3 separate regions of the Homo sapiens genome follow, and regions 1 and 2 are each linked to region 3. Evidence: promoter capture Hi-C in 16 types of primary human blood cells and fetal thymus (Javierre and others, 2016). All regions are on one chromosome and are shown on one strand. The core of a region is centred on a gene start or on the middle of the fragment in contact, and the rest is flanking DNA. Distances in the headings are between cores, read along the strand shown. Region 1 overlaps CMTM4 (CKLF like MARVEL transmembrane domain containing 4). Region 2 overlaps CMTM4 (CKLF like MARVEL transmembrane domain containing 4). Region 3 holds the start of DYNC1LI2 (dynein cytoplasmic 1 light intermediate chain 2).

Region 1 (3,837 bases), core at 789-3,288, 100 kb after region 3:
AATAGCGTGTGTTGGCTGGACTGGAACTGAGACCTTAAGCACAGAGAGTCTCCAAGTGCCACAAAACGATCAGGGTTGAGGGAGAAGTTGTCTGGCCTCACCCTGTTTGCCTGGGGCGTGGCCTTTCTTATACATGTCTGTGATCCTGACATGTACAGGGATTAGGGGCCCTGAAAGAAGCCATACTCAGGAGAGGAGGGCAGCAGACGAGTGCCAGTGAGAGCCCTGCCCCTGCCCCCCATGAGGAGGGAGTCGGGCTCTGGACCTGACTCATGTTCATAGGAGGGTGTGAACCCAGTGCAAGGCTGAGGTTGAGCCCAGGCTTAGGGAGTGGGGAGGCTGCTGAGGACGGACCATACCTGCTCCCACTGTGGAGTCTGCAGGACACCAGGTGATATAAGTCATGATTAAATTGGGATATACTCTTCAATAGATTTGAAATGACCTGTCATGGAAATAATGCATATATTAGGAAGAAAAAAAATCAGGGATAGATAGATAGATAGATAGATAGATAGATAGATGGATAGATAGAGAGAAGGAATCAAGACCAAAAGAAAAAAGCAGCATATTTGCTCCCTAAGGAGCTTGTTCACCAATGCATCCCTAGAGTTAGGATCGTGCCTGGCATGTAGTAGATCCTCAGTTAATTTTAGCTGAATAAAGGGATGGTACTTGCCTAAATACTACTTTAAAAAAAAAATGGACTTTTAAAACATAAAGGCAAATGTCCACACCCACCTCAGGAACTTTTTCTTTTTTTAAGAGACAGGGTCTCACGCTATTGCTGGGACTGTAGTGCAGTGGCTATTACACAGCCATGATCATAGCTCACGGTAGGCAGCCTCAAACTCCTGGGCACAGGCGATCCTCCTGCCTAGGCCTCCTGGGTAGCTAGGACTACAGGTGTGCACCACTGTGCCCAGCAACCTCAGTCACTGTTTAGAACATAGTGTCTGGGGGCTAAGATTTCTCTTTTCTTTTCTTTTCCTTTTCCTTTTCTTTTCTTTTTTTGACAGAGTCTCGCTCTGTCAGCCAGGCTGGAGTGCAGTGGAATGATCTTGGCTCACTGTAACCTCTGCCTTTTGGGTTCAAGCGATTCTCCTGCCTCAGCTTCCTGAGTAGCTGGGATTATAGGCCTGCGCTACCACACCCAGCTAGTTTTTGTATTTTTAGTAGAGATGGGGTTTCACCATGTTGGCCAGGCTGGTCTTGAACTCCTGACCTCAGGTGATCAGCCTGCTTCAGCCTCCCAAAGTGTTGAGATGACAGGCGTGAGCCACCGTGCTCGGCCTGGGGGCTGAGATTTATTTCTTTTTTTTTTTGAGACGGAGTTTCATTCTTGTTGCCCAGGCCGGAGTGCAATGGCGTGATCTCGGCTCACTGCAGCCTCCGCCTCCCGGGTTCAAGCGATTCTTCTGTCTCAGCCTCCTGAGTAGCTGAGATTATAGGCATGCGCCACCAGGCCCAGCTAATTTTATATTTTTAGCAGAGATGGGGTTTCACCATGTTGGTCAGGCTGGTCTTGAACTCCTGACCTCAGTTGATCCACCAGCCTCGGCCTCCCAAAGTGCTAAGATTTCTTAAGATATTAATGATGAGGAAAAACTCAGATCCAGGAAAAATATTTTCATTCCCAAACAGATGAAGGCACCATCCTCGTAGCAGTTGGGAAAAGCAAGAATACTAGGTAGTAACAACCAAGGTTCATTTTTCTGCTTACTCTTTCTAGCCCATGTGTCCTCACTGCTGGTAGAGCAGCTACATTTCAGAGCTTGCTGGGCACTGTGGTGAAGGGAGGTCTCTGGAACATCTCATACTGGCAACAAAGTCTTCCACCTGAAAGTGATGCACTTGGCAGCTCATTAGCCAGAAGTAGTCTTGTGGCCCCACACAAATTCAAAGGATGCGGGGAAGGTGCTGGATGGTGGAGAACCACAAATATTTGGCAGCCAGCATTAATGACTCCTACAACCCTAATGACAGCTGTCTTTTATAGGATGAGAGTTGCTTTGGATTCAAGTGAATACAGACAAAGTGCATTTAAAGCAGTGGGTCACCATCACTGTAAATAAAAATACCACTTTTATCAAATGATTTCACAACTTCTCTCACACAGATGTCTAATGAGTAATCAAAGAACAGCAAAGCTGGGTGTGGTGGCGTGCACCTGTAATCCCAGCTACTCGGGAGGCTGAGGTGGGAGGATCTCTTGAGCCAGGAGTTTGAGTCCAGCCTGGGCAACATAGTGAGACTCATTTTTTTTTAAAAAAAGAAAGAACAATAGTTTGAAGTTAGGTTCTCTGGTGTTTTGTGTGGGTGATTAAGGCTGGATCCTGAACTTCTCTGAGTAGCACTCAGAGAGATAGATGTTCACATTCCTCATTTGCTCTTTTGTCCAACTTCTTCCCCAGTCTCCTCACAGTTGGCCCTGCGCACACCTTCCTTACCCCCAATGGTGTATCAGAAGCAATGCTCACGTATTTCTAGGTGATGTCATAGATTGCTTTTTTAGATGGAAAAACAGGGTAAGTTTTTGACTTCTCAGATGACTGACAAGATTAAATCTGGACTAAAAAGAGAACTTTCTTTTGTGAAAACAGGCTATAATTGTGAAGCCTGTGTACTTTTTAAAAGGACTTTTTTTTTTTTTTTTTTTTGAGACAGAGTCTCGCACTGTTGCCCAAGCTGGAGTGCAGTGGCATGATCTCGGCTCACTGTAACCTCCGCCTCCCCATTTCAAGCGATTCTCCTGCCTCAGCCTCCTGAGTAGCTGGGACTACAGGCACCTGCCACCACACCCGACTACTTTTTTGTATTTTTTTTTTTTTTAGTAGAGGCGGGGTTTCACCGTATTAGCCAGGATAGTCTTGATCTCCTGACTTCATGATCCACCCACCTCGGCCTCCCAAAGTGTTGGGATTGCAGGTGTGAGCCACTGCACCTGGTCAAAAGGGCTTTTAAAAAGTCCTGACCAGGCTGGGCGTGGTGGGTCACGCCTGTAATCCCAGCACTTTGGGAGGCCGAAGTGGGTAGATCACCTGAGGTCAGGAGTTCGAGACCATCCTGGCCAACGTGGTGAAACCCTGTCTCTACTAAAAATACAAAAATTAGCCGGGTGTGGTGGTGCACACCTATAATCCCAGCTACTCAGGAGGCTGAGGCAGGAGAATCGTTTGAACCCAGGAGGTGGAGGTTGCAGTGAGCCAAGATCGCACCATTGCACTTCAGCCTGGGTAACACAGCGAGACTGTGTCCCAAAAAAAAAAAAAAAAATTCATGAATGGTTTCAAAACAAGTAAGGATTGGTTCTTAGAGGTCACTAAAATTTAACTCATAACCTGGATGTTTCAAAAAAGTGTCCATACATAGGGCATTTAATTTTTTTTTCTAATTAAAAACACATATACTCTTTGTAGAAATTTTGGAACATGAAAGCGGGCTCAATGAAAATAAACCTATCCACATTTCTACCATATAGATGGGTTTACTATCAATATTTTACTATAGATTCTTCCTGAATCTATAATATATACATGTGATATATTTACATACATGCAGTTATATACAATGTGTACATATATGTGTATATATTATATGCATGTATTATAAATACATATATGTATGAATATGTATATTTCTTACATATTCAAACACGACAGGAGTGTTAATTAAAAAAGGTAAAATCTCTGTGATTCCCCTGTTCCCCACCTAATCCTAATCCATAGAGAGGTATTGATTTTTTACTGTTTAGCTTAAATCCTTCAATGCACATAAATGTGTTTGTAAACACAAATATGCTTATTTTTTGTTCTTCACCAAAAATGGGGTCACTTT
Region 2 (3,928 bases), core at 483-2,982, 130 kb after region 3:
TAAAACCTGATTGTACATTTGTTCAATTCTGAGATAGGAGAAAAACCGCCCTATGGCGGGAGGCGAGACATGTTGGCAGCAATGTTGCCTTGTTATTCTTTACTCCACTGAGATGTTTGGGCAGAGAGAAACATAAATCTGGCCTACGTGCACATCCAGACATAGTACCTCCCCTTGAACTTAATTATGACATAGATTCCTTTGCTCACATGTTTTTTTTGCTGACCTTCTCCCTATTATCATCCTGTTCTCCTACCGCATTCCTCTTGCTGAGATAATGAAAATAATAATCAATAAAAACAGAGAACTCAGAGACCGGTGCCGGGGCAGGTCCTTGGTATGCTGAGTGCCGGTCTCCTGGGCCCACTGTTGTTTCTCTATGCTTTGTCTCTGTGTCTTACTTCTTTTCTCAGTCTCTCGTCCCACCTGACGAGATATCCCACTGGTGTGGAGGGGCAGGCCACGCCTTCAGAAGAGGCCAGGCACAAAGCACATGTTATGTCATTCTATTTGTATGAAATGTCCAGAATATTTGTGGCAGATTTCACACACAGGAAAAAAAAAATGTCCAGAATAGGCAAATCCATAGAGACAGAAAGCAGATTGGTGGTTGCTTAGGGTTGGGGGAGGAATGAGAAATAACTGCTAATGCGTATGAGGCTTTTTTTGGAGTGCTAAAAATGTTCTAAAATTACATTGTGATTGAATTATATACTTTAATTGGGTATATGTTATGGTATGTGAATTATATCTCAATAAAGCTGTTTAAAAATACGTGATATGACCCAATGAAGGGTAACCACTTAAAATACTTGAGTATAAATCCTTCTAAACTGTTCTCTCTAGACAGTCTTTTGCGTATGCATGTGTGTTGTGATATGTGAGTGCAGAAAAATGGAACCATTAAAATCATGCTTTTTCATTTAAATTATTGTACCTTACATGTTAAATATATAACTACGTGATTATTTTTAATGACTGCATAGTGTTCCATTATGGAAATACCATTTTATTGAACAACTCCCCTATTGAGCACTTTGTTTGCTTCCTTATACTTAGACCTTTTTGCCTTATATCATTTATTTATTTATTTTTTTGAGACAGAGTCTCACGCTGTCCCCCAGGCTGCAGTGCAGAGGCGCAGTCTCCGCTCACTGCAGCCTCGACCTCCTGGGCTCAAACAATCTTCCTACCTCAGCCTTCCAAGTAGCTGGGACTACAGGAACGCACTACCATGCCTGGCTAATTTTTTTGAATTTTTTTGTAGAGACAGGGTTTTGCTGTGTTGCCCAGGCTGGTCTCGAACTCCTGAGCTCAAACAATCCACCCACCTCAGCCTCCCAAGTGTTGGGATTACAGGCAGGAGCCACCATGCCTGGCCCCCAATATGATTTTCTTTTTTTTCCTTTTTTTTCTTTTTTTTTTTCTTTGAGACGGAGTCTCATTCTGTCTCTCAGGCTGGAGTGCAGTGGCGCAATCTGGGCTCACAGCAACCTCTGCCTCCTGGATTCACGCAGTTCTTCTGCCTCAGCCTCCCGAGTAGCTGGGACTACAGGCATGTGCTACTATGCCCAGCTAACTTTGTTTTTTTTTTGAGAGGGAGTCTCACTCTGTCGCCCAGGCTGGAGTGCAGTGGCGAGATCTTGGCTCATTGCAATCTCCGCCCCCTGGCCTCTAGCGATTCTCTTGCCTCAGCCTGCCGAGTAACTGGGACTACATGGTGCATGCCACCGTGCCTGGCTAATTTTTTGTGTTTTAGTAGAGATGGGGTTTCGCCATATTGCCTAGGGGTGGTCTTGAGCTCCTGAGCTCAGGCTGTCCACTCACCTTGGCCTCCCAAAGTGCTGGGATTACAGATGTGAGCCACCACGCCTGGCCACAGCTAATTTTTTAGTAGAGACGGGGTCCAGCTAATTTTTGTATTTTTAGTAGAGACGGGGTTTCACCATATTTGCCAGGCTGGTCTCCATCTCCTGACCTCAGGTGATCCGCCCACCTCGGCCTCCCAAAGTGCTGGGATTATAGGCATGAGCTGCTGTGCCTGGCCTCCCTTTTTCTTTTTATTCTGTTGACTTGTTAGAAAAACTGGGTCATTTATCCTGTAGAGGGTCTTGCAGTTGAGTTGGCTGCATGCACCCTCATGGTAGTGTTTCATATGTCCTTCTTTCCCCATTTTCTCTGTGACCTAGTCATTGATCTCAGGGCAGTGTGGTGCTATAGCAGCTGCTCTGACAATTGAAATGTTTTCTGATCTGCTGTGCCCTTGAGGCAGCCACTTGTCACATGTGGCCACTGAGCACTCGAATTGTGGCTAGTGTGATTGAAGAGTGAAATTTTTTATCTTATATGAATTAGTTTAACTTCAGTCACATATGGCTAGTGTTTGCCCTATTGGACAGCACAGTCCTAGAAGCTCAATTATATTTAGATTCATCTTTTAAGCAAGTGCTTCAGTATTTAAATATGATTCAGTGGGATTTGAGGAGGCAGATATGTTATGCTCTTGTTAGCAGTTGCTGGCGTTTTTTTCCCCTGGTTTAATCTGGTTTCTTAGCCTCAGATCATGTTGAAAGATTATTTTTTATCTTTTTAAAATAGGCTTTTTGACATATTTTTTCCCTGTATTTGCTGTTCCCATTCATCATCTCATTCTTCACTCACTACTGTTAATGATCATTACTAAAGCAAATTTAAAACTACTGATACTCCTACAACTTTAAAATTTTTGACTGTTTTCTTTTTTCTTTTTCTTTTTTTTTTTTTTTGAGACAGAGTTTCGCTCTTGTTGCCTAGGCTGGAGTGCAGCGGCGCAGTCTTGGCTCACTGCAACCTCCGCCTCCCGGGTTCCAGCGATTCTCCTGCCTCAGCCTCCCGAGTAGCTGGGATTACAGGCATGTGCCACCACACCCGGCTAATTTTGTATTTTTAGTAGAGACGGGGTTTTTCCATGTTGGTCAGGCTGGTCTCGAACTCCCAACCTCAGGTGATCCGCCCGCCTCGGCCTCCCAAAGTGCTGGGATTACAGGCATGAGCCACCGTGCCCGGCCTGTTTGTTTTCTAGCCCTTTGCTGCATCTCTGTTTTTATGTAGTCACTGTTAATGTTGATACTGTTTTATTTGATGTTTGACCTCACAGTGTATTGTATTTTCCCCTCGTTTCTGAATAGTCTTTGCTTTGGGAAGTATATTTTATATTCTTTTTTTACCCCTACAGCATCTTACCCAGAGCTGAGTGTAACTAAACGCTTCCTGGTTTGAATTTGTGAAAAATTTGCCCTGGCTTACGCAGGTCATAGCTGAAACCCATCCTGCTGGCAGATGCGTCTGAGCAGAGCTTTCCATGAGCCAGGAGCAGGTTGGGTGTCTGCTGCAAGACTCAGCACTGTTATGATGCCAGCATTGTCTCTTTACATCTTATTTTATTATTTTATTGAGACAAGAGTCTCGCTCTGTCACCCAGGCTAGAGTGCAGTGGCACGATCTTAGCTCACTGCAACCTCTGCCTCCCGGGTTCAAGTGATTCTCGTACTTCAGCTGCCCAAGTAGCTGGGATTACAGGCATGCGCCACCATGCCCAGCTAATTTTTGTATTTTTAGTAGAGATGGGGTTTCACCATGTTGACCAGGCTGTTCTCGAACACCTGACCTCAAGTGATCCATCCGCCTCAGCCTCCCAAAGTGCTGGGATTACAGGCATGAGCCACCGCACCAGCCATCTTTACATCTTCAAAAAGAGGAAATCGACCTTGGAGCTAGGCCAGACCAGAGGATCCATCAGGTGTGGATAGTGTAATCAGCCTGGCACTCAGGCAGTTTGGGCTTTTTCCTGAATTTTTTTCCTATAGAGGTTTTAGAGGTACTCTGGTATGACCCAGGCTACTGGGTGCCTCATGCCAAAGTAGTAATAACAGAAGTGACAGTAAATATG
Region 3 (3,441 bases), core at 439-2,938:
GTAGATAAGGCAACCCTTCCTGCTTCAGGTCATCCACAACTTCCATGACTGCTGCTGTATTCTTATCCAAGTCACTGATGGCACCCTGAATTGGCTGGCCAGGGCAGGAGGTTTGGGCAGGCCCCTAGCAGCCTCATCTGCTGGTCCCTCCTCTTCATCAGCCACCTCTGGGCTAGTCTTTAATAAGCCTCAGTGCTATCATCCAGCATTGATTTCACTTTCGCATCTAAGATGTGAATTGTCAAATGCCCTGTTGAAATCTGCATTTGCTGTATCTGCAGCATCCGCCTACCTGGTACTCCTGCAAAAAAGAAAGATACTGTGTAAATCTGGTATTCTCTTTTCCTTTAGTGTTTAATCACAAAATTTCACTTAGTGCTGATTAAGCTCACTGGCCTGTAATTTTCATCTCCATCTTCTGTCCTGTGAAAATTCAGCACTGCTTGCCCTTTTAGGACTTCTGGCACTTTGCCTGATTTTCCCAGATTTCCAAGGGAGGAACTCAGTGGGTTTTCACTCTCGTCTTGTTTAAACCTTACATCCAGTTTGGCAGATGATATGCCCATTTGTTTTATCCCGTAATTCATGCCGCCAGATTTTTTGGCATCAGGATCACAATCCTACTCATCTGAAACCTACTTAGGTGGTGCTTTTCTGCCACATTCCACTTCCTTGTGATATTTAGAAATGTCTTGTTAGCCTGTTTCCATAGAGAATGGCAAGAGCCCTCAAGTAGAGGCCACACCTAAAATTAAGCTTGATAATGGAATGTATGTTTTTCCTTCGGTTACTCTCCGCTCTTTCCCTTTTCCATCCCCTTTCCTTTTATTTTTCTCCCCGCTCTGCACCTGCCAGCTGGCCCCCAAGGAAATTAAGGGCTCCTCTTCTGGTGTGAAATGCTGGCTCCCTGAAAACATCATTTTAAAAAGCATGTTAATAAAGCAAAGCCAAGTGTATTATGCACTGCGGTCAAGAGCACTACTTCACAGTCTTTAGTCTTCGGAGGAGGAGGGGGAAATGCAGGATATTTATGAGGATTCTGGGGTCTTCCTTAAGGCTAGTCTTTCAATGCAGGGCTTGAGTAGGGTTAGGCCAAGTTCATGATATAATGGTCCAAGGTTGGGGAATAAATTAGAAGTACCGAATGTTATCTTCTAGCCTTGGGTCCTTGGGTGGGTTTCTTAAATTTTTTGAGCTTCAGGTTCCTCATCTGTGAAAGGGTTAGATAAGATTCAGTGAGATAATGTGTGACTCTGGCACATGGTGAGCTCTAGATAAATGGCGCTTTTGTGTCCATCAGTCTCATTCCCAAAGCCTAGGCTTTCGGGTCGGTCATCCGGCTGCCCGACCCGCGACGGCGCAGGGGAATCGGCGAGCGTGGCGGGGTGCTGCGCTGCGCCCCTCAGCCGGCAGAGGCCGCCAGCGCGCCCTCGGTCCGGACGGTGCCCGCCCCTGCCACCGCCTCCCCGCGCATGGCTGCCCCGGCGGCTGCCTGACCGCCGCCCGCCACCTCGGCGGCCTCGCAACCCGTGGGAGCCCGTGGCCATCGCAGACCTAGAGGACACGTTGGGCGGCGCAGTCGCCGCGGCAAGGTCGGCGGGCGGCGCGGCGCGAGGGACGGCGAGCGGGGGGCGGCCCGGCCCGGGTCCTCGCGGGTCCTCGGCGGGCCCGGGGGAGGGCCCTCTTTGTGGCTGCAGTTGGCAAGATGGCGCCGGTGGGGGTGGAGAAGAAGCTGCTGCTAGGTCCCAACGGGCCCGCGGTGGCGGCCGCCGGCGACCTGACCAGTGAGGAGGAGGAAGGCCAGAGCCTATGGTGAGGCCGCGGGCGGTCGGGCCGGGCCGTGGGGGGCGCGGCCTCTGGGCCGGACCGTCGGACACACTGAGGGGCCGACGCGAGCCGGGCCATCCCAGCCCGGCCCGGGGCTGACCACTCTTGCCATTGTCGCCACAGGTCCTCCATTCTGAGCGAAGTGTCCACCCGCGCCAGGTCCAAGCTGCCGTCCGGCAAGAACATCCTGGTCTTCGGTGAGCGCCGGCGGCGGGGCGTTGCCCCAGGTCGCTGGGGTGGGCGAGGCGGGCGCCCCTCCCTCAGGTCCCCGCCTTCCCCGTTCCAGCCGCCTGCCCGCAGCCTGGCGGGAAAGGGACCGTCGGCCCTGGCCGGTCAGCTGGAGAGTGGTCAAGCCTCCAGCGCCTGAGGGTGGGATGCTGCCCTCTTTGGAGAGCGTAGTGGTGCTTTGGGGTTGTCGGCATATTGTTTCAGTCACTTGGCCCTCTATGCCTTCATTGCCTCGACGGTTACCAAATTGAGGTCGTGGAGAGGGGAAGCTAGTAGATGAGATTAGGTGGAGAAGGTGGGAGAACGAGGTGACCTGGGCTCGGAGCTGTGGGGAAATGACCACGGGAGCCTTCTTTGAGCCTCATCAGTAGTGCATAGTCCGAGGTTTTAGGGACTTTGCAGAGGACAGAGAGTCAGCACTGGGGACGTTTCCTCCATTATGCTAGCCCTCACTGCTAGGTTACCTGAGTCAGGTCCCTTACTCCCTCTGGCCTCACTCTCCTCAAGTGAGGGAGTTTGGGTACATTCACACAGCAAGTCCATTTGTTGCTTGGGACCTGTGGGCTGGGCACAGGCTCAGCATAGGCGACTCTTAAACACTATAGAAGAATCTCAGTCTGGTGGAAGACAGATGTATTGGTGATTGCATTGCACCATGCCGATTATTGTGGAAGCATTACACTGCTTAGAGCTGGTGAAGGAGGATGATTCGGGGGTTGAGTATTTTGCAGAAAAGTGTCAGTATGCAGGGACACAGATGACAAGAGGGTGTGGGGTTTGGAAACTGCTAGAAGCGCCTTGTGGTTGGTGGCTGCTAAGGTAAGTTGGGGGCAGATTGTGGGAAGGCTGAAGAGTTAGTGCTGTTTCCTGAAGTTCTCTGATTTTTCAAATGGCTTTTATCTCACCTCCATCCCCCAATTCCCATGGGAATCACTGCCTTGGTAGTTTTCCTACTGTTAGAATGTGTGACCTTTCTCAGGAATTGACTGTGGTAGGTAATACCGGACCCTTAGAGATCTTCAAGAAGTGGGGGATCAAGATCACCAGATCTGAGTTTTAGAAAGAACGCTGCCTGCAGAGGGACAGTAGCTCAAAATGAGCAGGTACTGAAGTCAGGCTGACAGGTCCTCACCTTGGTCTGGATGCAGAGGGCCTGAATAAGGTAGAGGCATTGGAGATGGAGAGGAGGTCTTTGATCTGTGGACTGACTGCCTTTCAATTCTCATGTTCTGTAATTCCATATTATTAAATGGCAGAAGTGCCTAGTAATGTTTGGCGATGGTTCTCCTTGATGTTTAAGGATCCGGGGAAGGGGGGTGTTGTTTGGGTGGAGGGAGATGAAGAAGTGCTTAATAATTAACTGAGATTGTACTGAAGAGTTTTGCT

What was found. The method cuts DNA at HindIII sites, captures the fragments that hold promoters and counts their contacts. A CHiCAGO score of 5 or more calls a contact.
Region 1: a fragment that was not itself captured here is called in contact with the fragment with the promoter of DYNC1LI2 in region 3 in 6 of 17 cell types (naive CD8 T cells, naive CD4 T cells, M1 macrophages and 3 more); the score reaches 7.7 in naive CD8 T cells.
Region 2: a contact is called between a fragment that was not itself captured here and the fragment with the promoter of DYNC1LI2 in region 3, in 1 of 17 cell types (M1 macrophages). The highest score is 5.5, in M1 macrophages.

The regions. Positions count from the first base shown.
Region 1 is chr16:66,646,147-66,649,983 of GRCh38, reverse strand. All of the region lies in intron 1 of CMTM4 (CKLF like MARVEL transmembrane domain containing 4), which reads left to right. Among named protein-coding and RNA genes, the nearest start is that of CMTM3, 43 kb to the right of the region's middle. The HindIII fragment of the contact is 8,901 bases long and covers 1-3,837 here.
Region 2 is chr16:66,624,272-66,628,199 of GRCh38, reverse strand. All of the region lies in intron 2 of CMTM4 (CKLF like MARVEL transmembrane domain containing 4), which reads left to right. Among named protein-coding and RNA genes, the nearest start is that of CMTM3, 22 kb to the right of the region's middle. The HindIII fragment of the contact is 4,903 bases long and covers 1-3,928 here.
Region 3 is chr16:66,749,856-66,753,296 of GRCh38, reverse strand. DYNC1LI2 (dynein cytoplasmic 1 light intermediate chain 2) reads left to right here and starts at 1,688. Exons shown (of 13, transcript NM_006141.3): 1 at 1,688-1,812; 2 at 1,951-2,024. The coding sequence starts at 1,706. It overlaps DYNC1LI2-DT (DYNC1LI2 divergent transcript), which reads right to left and starts at 1,545. Exons shown (of 2, transcript NR_133569.1): 1 at 397-1,545; 2 at 1-301. RefSeq lists an enhancer at 1,332-2,047 and a silencer at 1,261-2,060. The HindIII fragment of the contact is 3,643 bases long and covers 759-3,441 here.